Linked DNA regions of Homo sapiens: region 2 is linked to region 1. Evidence: promoter capture Hi-C in 16 types of primary human blood cells and fetal thymus (Javierre and others, 2016). All regions are on one chromosome and are shown on one strand. The core of a region is centred on a gene start or on the middle of the fragment in contact, and the rest is flanking DNA. Distances in the headings are between cores, read along the strand shown.

Region 1 (4,671 bases), core at 1,617-4,116:
AACCACCAAGAAAGGTATCCCCTCAATCTACACTGACATCTCCAGCACATACCTCTCTTCTAAGCTCCAGATCCTCATCCCCAAGTGCCTTATTGGTGCCTCTTCTTTGATGCCATGTTCACACTGGAACTCGGGCCATTCTTCCCATCCTCCACCCTCCCAAATATGGTCCTCTTCCGGGGCTTCCCAAAACAATGAGTGCCAGCACTACAATGGCTCATCCCAGAGACCCAGGAGACATTCATGATTCCTACCTCTTCCTCACCCTCCATATCCATTTCACCACTGATTTTACATCAATTTTATTCCAAAATCTTTCTCAAATTTGACTTTCTTTTTTTTTTCCATCCCCATTGCCACTACCATAGTCCATGAATGGTTTTCAAAGGGAGGTTCATGTACCCCATAGTATGGGAAGGCAATCCATTGGGATACTGGGAGAAAATATTAGAACTTCTACATTTCTTTCTTTTTTTTTTTTTTTTTTGAGATGGAGTCTCGCTCTGTCACCCAGGCTGGAGTGCAGTGGCGCAATCTCGGCTCACTGCAAGCTCTGCCTCCCGGGTTCACACAGTTCTCCTGCCTCAGCCTCCAGAGTAGCTGGGAATACAGGCGTCCACCACCACGCCCGGCTAATTTTTTGTTGTATTTTTAGTAGAGACGGGGTTTCACCATGTTAGCCAGGATGGTCTCGATCTCCTGACCTCATGATCCGCCCACCTCGGCCTCCCAAAGTGTTGGGATTACAGGCGTGAACCACTGCACCCGGCCTCTTTTTTTTTTTTTTTTGAGATAGATTCTCGCTTCATCGCCAAGGCTGGAATACAGTGGCGTAATCTCAGCTCACTGCAACCTCTGCCTCCCAGGTTCAAGTTGTTCTCCTGCTTCGGCCTTCCAAGTAGCTGGGATTATAGGCCTCCACCACCACGCCTGGCTAACTTTTTGTATTTTTAGTACAGATGGGATTTCACCATGTTAGCCAGGATGGTCTCGATCTCCTGACCTCATGATCCGCCCACCTCGGCCTCCCAAAGTGTTGGGATTACAGGCGTGAACCACTGCACCCGGCCTCTTTTTTTTTTTTTTTTGAGATAGATTCTCGCTTCATCGCCAAGGCTGGAATACAGTGGCGTAATCTCAGCTCACTGCAACCTCTGCCTCCCAGGTTCAAGTTGTTCTCCTGCTTCGACCTTCCAAGTAGCTGGGATTATAGGCCTCCACCACCACGCCTGGCTAACTTTTTGTATTTTTAGTACAGATGGGATTTCACCATGTTGGCCAGGCTGGTCTGGAGCTCCTGACCTCAGGTGATCCTCCTGCCTCAGCCTCCCATAGTGCTGGGATTACAGGCATGAGCCACCATGCCTGGCCCGTCTCTATGTTTTTGACTACTCTAGGTACCTTATGTAAGTGGAATCATAGGATATTTGTCTTTGTGACTGGTTTCTTTTGGCATAATATCTTCAAAGCTCATCTATTTGCATCGTAGCTGGGATTATAGGCATGCGCCACCACGCCTGGCTGATTTTGTATTTTTAGTAGAGACGGGGTTTCATCATGTTGGTCAGGCTGGTCTCGAACTCCTGACCTCAGGTGATCCACGCGCCTTGGCCTCCCAAAGTGCTGGGATTACAGGCGTAAGCCACGGCGCCCGGCCTCCTTCAACGCTGAGTAATATTCTATTGTTATGTTTATACCACATTTTGTGAACCCATTCACCCGTGGATGGACATTGGGTTGCTTCCACCTTCTGACTAATATGAACATGGGTGTACACATTTATATCCACTCTTGCCTCCCCTCCGTAGTCCTTCCTTCTCCACACTGCATCTAGAGTAACCCCTTTACACTCTCAAGTATGGACAAATCACCTCTTGCTTAAAACTCATTAGTTTTGCAACACTGTCAAGTAAGACCTAACTTCTCACCACTCTGATTTATTATTGGAACACAAAACTGGGCCATGCTCCGTGGCTCAAGCACTTTGGGAGGCCGAGGTGGGCGGAACACCTGAGGTCAGGAGTTTGAGACCAGCGTGGCCAACATGGGGAAATCCCGTCTCTACTAATAACACAAAAATTAGCCGGGCGTGGTGGCGCACGCTTGTAATCGCAGCTATCCGGGAGGCTGAGGCAGGAGAATCACTTGAACCCGGGAGGTGGAGGTTGCAGCGAGCCAAGATCACGTCACTGCACTCCAGCCTGGGCGATAGAGCAAGACTCCGTCTCAAACAAACAAAACCCACAGAACTGGAAGACCCTTGCTGCTGCTTCTGCGTAATGTGTTCTCCTCCCTTCTCGTTTTTTTTTTTTTTTTTCTCCCTTCTACCCCTTAGGACCTCAGCTCCTGCTCTTTCCCTGGGGGAATTCCGGATCACTCTCCTTTACTAGGTCAGGGTACTCTCTCCCTCCCTCTTACTCTTTCCCCTCCTACCACTTGTCACCATTGGTACTATATTATCACCCGGATATGTGACAATGGTATTGTGTATTTACCACTAAGGAATAAACTTATGAGGGAGAGAGCACTACCCGTTCCTGCAGTGCCCGTCGGGGCCTGGCATCTAGGAAACACTCCATACGCCAGTAATCGATTTCAGTCAATTTCAGTAATAAATCCAGGAGGACGCAGCCCGACCCCTCCCGCCCGGGGGCCAAGCCATGGTGGGGGATCTGGGTGGACCTCCGGCTCTGGCCGCCAGTCCTCAACCTCCGCCCCGGCCGTCCCGCTTGGGGGCCCAGGGTCCCAGGAGAGGAGGCTCCGGGGCGCCCCCTCCCCTCTAATGCGAGAGGAGAGTCCGCTCTAGGCGCGGGATCCGCAACCTCCCCGCGTCCGCCCGAGGCGGGGGCGGGGCCGGACCGGAGACGTAACTTCCGGTGTACACAGCCGGTCCAAGGCGGTGCGCTGGGGGCCGGGGCGCGTCGCAGGTGAGGAGCGGGCGCGGCGGGCGCAGGCGGGGGCTGGCGGGCGGGGTCGGGCGGTGGGCGGTGGGCAGCGGGGCCGCGGGCCGCAGCCAGGGCAGACGGCGAGACGGGCCCGCGGGGCGCCGCTCCGCTCGGGGCCGCAGGGCGCGGGGCCGTGGGCTCCCGCCCCTTGCCCGCCCGCTGTGGAGGACGCCGGGCTTTGCGGGCGCTGGCCGGCCGACGGAAGCCCGGAGGGGCCTCCTGGCGCGAACCCGGGACCTGGGGGCGCGTCGGAGACTCGGCGGCCGCGGCACCGCAGGGGCGGGTCGGCGCCCGTCAGGCGGGGAAAGGGGACGCTCCCTCGGTTCGCCGGGGCCCGGGAGGTCGCGCTGGCGCCAGGACCCGCTCCCGGAAGCCCGCGGAGGGAGGGCGGCCTGCTGGCGGCAGGGGTCCGCTGGGGCTAGCCGGGGAGGCGGCCCTCACGCCATCCCGGGGCTGCCGGGCGGGCTGCGCGCACCTTCCCGGCGGCGCCAGGCTGCCGAGGAACGCGCTTTTCCGGCCCTGCGGAGCCAGCTGGCGCATTGGGCCCGAGGGGAGGGTCCGCGGGGACCGGGAGGGCCGGGGCTGAGCGTGGAGGACCCGAGCCCGAGGGACGAGCGCAGAGTCAGGGGTGTGTCTTTCTGCGCCGCGCGGTGCGAGGAAAGAAGCGTGCCTGGTTGGCATGATAAGAATTTTGTTTAGACTTTTTAGAAATTTTCCAGAGACTCAGCTTTGGGGGCCTCCAGTTTGAAAATACCTTGTTCTGGTCCCTCATCCCCATTATAAAAGCAGTTAATTCTCCTTTCCTGGCAAAACACTCAAGACGACACAAAAAGTCTTAAGGTAGAAAATGACAGTCATCTGCCAGTCTACCATTCAGTGACAACCACTGCTAACATTTTGGTGATAATCAATAAATACAGATAGGTATTGTTATTTTTATGGACTTTACAGTATGTGATTTAACCACCGATGAGCATTGAGATAGTTTCCAATTTGTCACAAGATAAACAATTCTGCCGGAAGGATTTGTTTGATATGGTCTTTTTTTTTTTTTTTTAATAAGAGACTGTTGCCCAGGCTGGTCTCAAAACTTCTGGCCTCAAGCGACCCTCACGCCTTCGCCTTCCAAAGTGTTGGGATTACAAGTGTGAGATATTACACCTGGTCTGATTGTTATCTTAGAATAAATTTACAAATGGGGTCAAAGGTAACTTTATTTGTTTTTTTTTGAGACAGTCTCCCTCTGTCACCCAGGCTGGAGTGCAGTGGCGGGATCTAGATTAACTGCAACCTTAGCCTCCCGGGTTCGAGCGATTCTCCTGCTTTAGTCTCCCGAGTAGCTGAGATTACAGGCACCCACCACGCCCGGCTAATTTTTGTATTTTTAGTAGAGACAGGGTTTCGCCCAGTTGACCAGGTTGGTCTCGAACTCCTGACCTCAGGTGATCCGCCTGGCTCGGCGTTCCAAAGTGCTGGGATTATAGGCGTGAGCCACCGTGTCCGGCCGTAACGTTCAATTTTTAAGAATACATAGTATTTGTTTTCCTTTGACATATTTGGACAATTTTTCTGTCTCTTTGTCATAAAAAAAAATTCCAGCCTGGCGCGATGGCTCATGCCTGTAATCCCAGCACTTTGGGAGGCCGAGGCGGGCGGATCACTTGAGGTCAGGAGTTCTAGACCAGCCTGGCCAACGTGGTGAAACCCGGATTCAACTAAAAAAATA
Region 2 (4,230 bases), core at 530-3,029, 64 kb after region 1:
AGGTCAAACACATCCTAAGTGGTGGAGACAACACAGACAATGCCTTTTAAACTGACCTGTGTCTCTTCCCCCACTCCTTCCTACAGCAGGGTTCTGCCCTCCTTACTGCCACCCCACAGCAAGAGGGCTTCCTCCACCTCATTCTCCCCAGGGGTGATGGCCTTGTCAGAGAGCATCCTGTTCTTGATCTGGGGGCCCTCCTTCAGGCCTTCAGCCATTCCTCAGAACTTTGCCCCTTAGTAGGGGAGGGGACAGGGTAGCTCTCCCTTTGCCCTCGGTCATTTCCTTGAGGAGCCTTTTCCTTCCCATCCGTCTGTGTTCCTTTCCCAGCAGCACCCGGCCTTGCATATCTGTTCATTGCCTGTTGTCTTCCCCATTAGAATGTCGCCCTGGCGAGAGCAGGGACTTGCTCATTCTCTTTCCAGTAGTGTTCCCAGCTCTTTGTGCTTGGTGCATATCAGGCATCCCCATCTTATATATTTATTGAGAGAATGAATGACTAAGTTGTGTCCATCAGAGCTGTGAGAGTGTGAACCCAGAGCTAATGGAGCATGGCGTCTTCCCTTTTTCCTCCTCCTCCAGCTTCCCATAGCTGCCAAGGTGCTGAGGAAGGAGTGGGAGGAATAGTTTGTGTCCCTGAGGAGCCGGCTCACTCCCCCTCCCTGTGTCTGCAGTGGGTGGGGAGATTGAGGAAACCCTCAGCCTACACCAGTTAAGGTGGAGTTCCTGTCACATGCAAGCCGATGCCAGTTTAGAGTCTGCTGAAGGCAGTGGGGCACACAGGTGAAGGGCATGGACACTTGAGTCAGGTGACTGGTCCACCACATGCAGATTGTGTCCCGTTGACAAAATTTTGTAGCCTTTCTATGCCTTGATCTTGTTGTCTATGAAGGGAGGATGACCTCATAGGGTGGTTCCTGGGATTGAATGCGCTAGCCCATGTGACTCTCCAGCATTGGTCAGGTACAGGCTGTGTGCTCCACTAAAGCTGTCTGTGTGCTCTACAGGACTAAATAGCTGCTGCTTATTCTACTCCTGGCACCTGTCTAACTGGCCTAGGTGCGCTGCCTTCGTGTCCCTCACCCTGCCCAGTCTAGCACAGAGCACTGGGGGAAGGGCTCTGAAGGAGGTGTGAGTGGAAGCCCAGGAGTTTGGGGGGCTTCAGCCTGTGATGTCGGTTGTTGTTCCCTCTGGAGGGCAAGTGCTTTGGTGTGAGATTTGTGTGCGGTTTTTTGTTTGCTTTAGTTTGGTCCTGGTGATTTCCACAGGGTGAGGAGGGATTCGGAGATAATAAGTGTCTTGCTGGGAACTGGCTTGCCCCTGCTTCTCCAAGAAGAAACAGCTCTGACTCTTGGGAACTGAGAGGGCGTGTGGCAAAGGTAGATGCTGAGGCGAGGCAAGGCGAGAGGTCCACATGCGTGCCACAAGGCAGAGAGTCCACGTGTGCACCTGAGGGGAGAGGAAGGTTGAGTCTTACTGTGTGCTGCTCAAGGGACAGGACAGTGCATGGGCACTGTGCTGGATTTTGGTTCCTTGTAAAAAGCAATGGCTATAGTTCCCTGACCTTCACCACTTGCGTGAGGCAGTGGGCTGAGGGCCGGCTGTGAGTAGGCTCTCTCAGGTCCACTCCTGCTCAGCTGGGTGAATTGCAAACTCAATAAAGTAAGTTGTTGTGAATAAGTAATCTGCATAAGCCAAAGAAATATAAAATATCTTCCACAAAAAATTATTAGGGAGCAGGATAAAAGAGCTGCAAAAGGTTTTTGTTGGTATTATTGCCAAATCTGATGTGGGCAAAACAACTATGAGAAATTAGGAAAAAATGTCAATAATCTGGAAGGTTTGTGGTCAAGTTGCTTTGTAAGTGGCCAGTTTTTGCCCTGTGTTAAAGAGGAAATAAGGCCGGGCATGGGAGCTCATGCCTGTAATCCCAGCCCTTTGGGAGGCCGAGGCAGGTGGATCACCTGAGGTCAGGAATTCAAGACCAGCCTGGCCAACATGGTGAAACCCCGTCTCCACTAAAAATACAAAAATTAGCCGGGTGTGATAGTGCACCGAGGTCAGAGAATCGCTTAAACCCAGGATGTGGAGGTTGCAGTGAGCCGAGATCACGCCACTGCACTCCAGCCTGGGTGACAGAGCGAGACTCCATTTCAAAAAAAAAAGATAAATAAGAAATGATAGAGAACACATTGTAACTGTGGTTTATGCAAGAAAGTAACAGGGAGGAGCAGCAAAGGAGCTGTCAGAACAGCCTTAGCCCATACCAGAAGGCTGCCAGAGAAATGCACAATCATATCTGAAAATGTTTGTGGCACATAGTATATATTTAGTATACATCTTATTATAATTACATATTCATGTGTATAGTATTTTTTAAGTTAATTTCCTACTTGGACTATTAGCAACCAATCACTGATATATATCAGGTTAATGGGTTTCTACTGTACTCATGAGTGGAGCTGTCCATTATATTTTCTTGACTCCTGGAAGACTGGTCTGTCAGCTTTGTTTCCTAAGACTGGAATGATGACATACAACTATGTTAATAACTATGTTAACACTCCTACTAAAATAACCGGTATATTTGGATTCCATTTTCAACGGAATGTCTTATGGTCAAACTGGCCTTCTTTCAGATTTTTAGTTGCATGGTTTTTCCTTTACCTTCTGAATACTGTATGGACGTAATTGCTGTTGTGGATGGCTGTGGTTCAGCAGGAGCTCAAAGACACCAGAAGTGGTGTGAGTCCAGATATAGGGGGTGGAGACAGGATTGGGGGTTACTTGGTGGGAAATGGGAAGAATTATTTCAACCTTGGGCCTTGTTATTTGATGGAAATGTTTTGACTTCCAGGCATCAGTCACCGAGGTCCAAACACAAAAACAAAGGCAGATCCTTCTGAAGCATGGTGGCCTTTTAACTTTGTATGATTTTGGATTTCCAGTTAACTATTGCTTCTATTCAAGTTGGTCATTGAAAATTTACTGCGCGAATCCAACAGCAACCCACAACCTAAACATCCCTGGCTGTCTTGTTTTCACAGGTGTTGGGGCGATGTTTCCTGACTGTGGTGCAAGTCCATTTCCAGTTTTTGACTCATGCGTTACAGAAGGTCCAGCCGGTGGCTCACTCTTGCTTTGCTGAGGTCATCGTGCCAGAAAAAAAGAACAGCGGCAGTGGCGGCGGCTTATCTGGCATGGGCCACACACCTGAAGTAGAGGAAGCTGTGCGGTCCTGGCGGGGGGCTGCTGAGGTAACCCTGGCTTTGGGGAGATTGGTGCCTGTGTTCAAATAGGAGAGGCTCCAGAGGGCCTTTGCCTGTTGATTCTCAAAACAGCCATTTCATTTAGAAATGTACATTTTAAACTGTTATCATTGGCTTGTTCATTCATTTAACAGTGAACATCTTTGTGAATGCCCACTTTGTGCCAGGCATGTGCCAGGCACTAGGATGACAACCTCTACTCACAGCCTCCTGGGAGAATAGGCTTACAAAAACAGGGCTAAGGGGCCAGGATGGAGATATGCGGGAGCCAGAGGAAGGGAGGGCCCTGTCTCTGAACGGTAGTGCTGCAGGAAAGCTTCTAAGATGGGGGACCAGTGAGAAGAGGCTGGCACCCAAGTCAGGAAAGACGGGGTGGAGCTGTCTGGGGAGGGTAAGTGGCCAGCCAGGCAGCGAGGCAGGCGAGCAGGAGTGTTTGGCAGACGGATGGGATGACAGGCTCCAAAGATACAACCACAGCAGGGCGAGAGCTCAGTGGACACAGGGAATTTTGTGTTTTTTGTTAGTCAAATCATTCCCTATAGAAGTGCTTGGAATCTTTGTAACTTTTTAAATTCTTTAAGTTTTTCTTTTTCTTTTTCTTTTTTTTTTTTGAGACAGGGTCTTGCTCTGTTGCCCAGGCTGAAGTGCAGTGCTGCGATCAAGTCTCACTACAGCCTGTACCTCCGGGCTCAAGAGATACTCCCACCTCAGCCTCTTCCAAGTAGCTGGGACTACAGGCTCATGCCACCATGTCTAGCTTATTATTATTATTATTACTTTTTTTTTTTTTTTTTTGGTAGAGATGAAGTCTCACTATGTTGTCCAGGTTGGTCTTGAGCTACTGGGCTCAAGCGATCCACCCACCTCTGCCTCCCAAAGTGCTGGGATTACAGGCATTAGCCACTGCACCCAGACAAGATTCTTTTTTTTTTTTTTTTTTTTTTTTGAGACGGAGTCTCGC

Evidence for each region. Contacts are between HindIII fragments. The CHiCAGO score rates a contact against its expected background, and 5 or more counts as called.
Region 2: a fragment that was not itself captured here is called in contact with the fragment with the promoter of GARRE1 in region 1 in 7 of 17 cell types (naive CD4 T cells, naive CD8 T cells, naive B cells and 4 more); the score reaches 8.7 in naive CD4 T cells.

Annotation. Positions count from the first base shown.
Region 1 is chr19:34,251,688-34,256,358 of GRCh38, forward strand. It overlaps GARRE1 (granule associated Rac and RHOG effector 1), which reads left to right and starts at 2,867. Exons shown (of 14, transcript NM_014686.5): 1 at 2,867-2,927. RefSeq lists an enhancer at 3,164-3,685. The HindIII fragment of the contact is 8,095 bases long and covers 1-4,671 here.
Region 2 is chr19:34,316,860-34,321,089 of GRCh38, forward strand. GARRE1 (granule associated Rac and RHOG effector 1) reads left to right here. Exons shown (of 14, transcript NM_014686.5): 3 at 3,048-3,257. Among named protein-coding and RNA genes, the nearest start is that of GPI, 46 kb to the right of the region's middle. RefSeq lists an enhancer at 2,925-3,219. The HindIII fragment of the contact is 3,607 bases long and covers 1-3,583 here.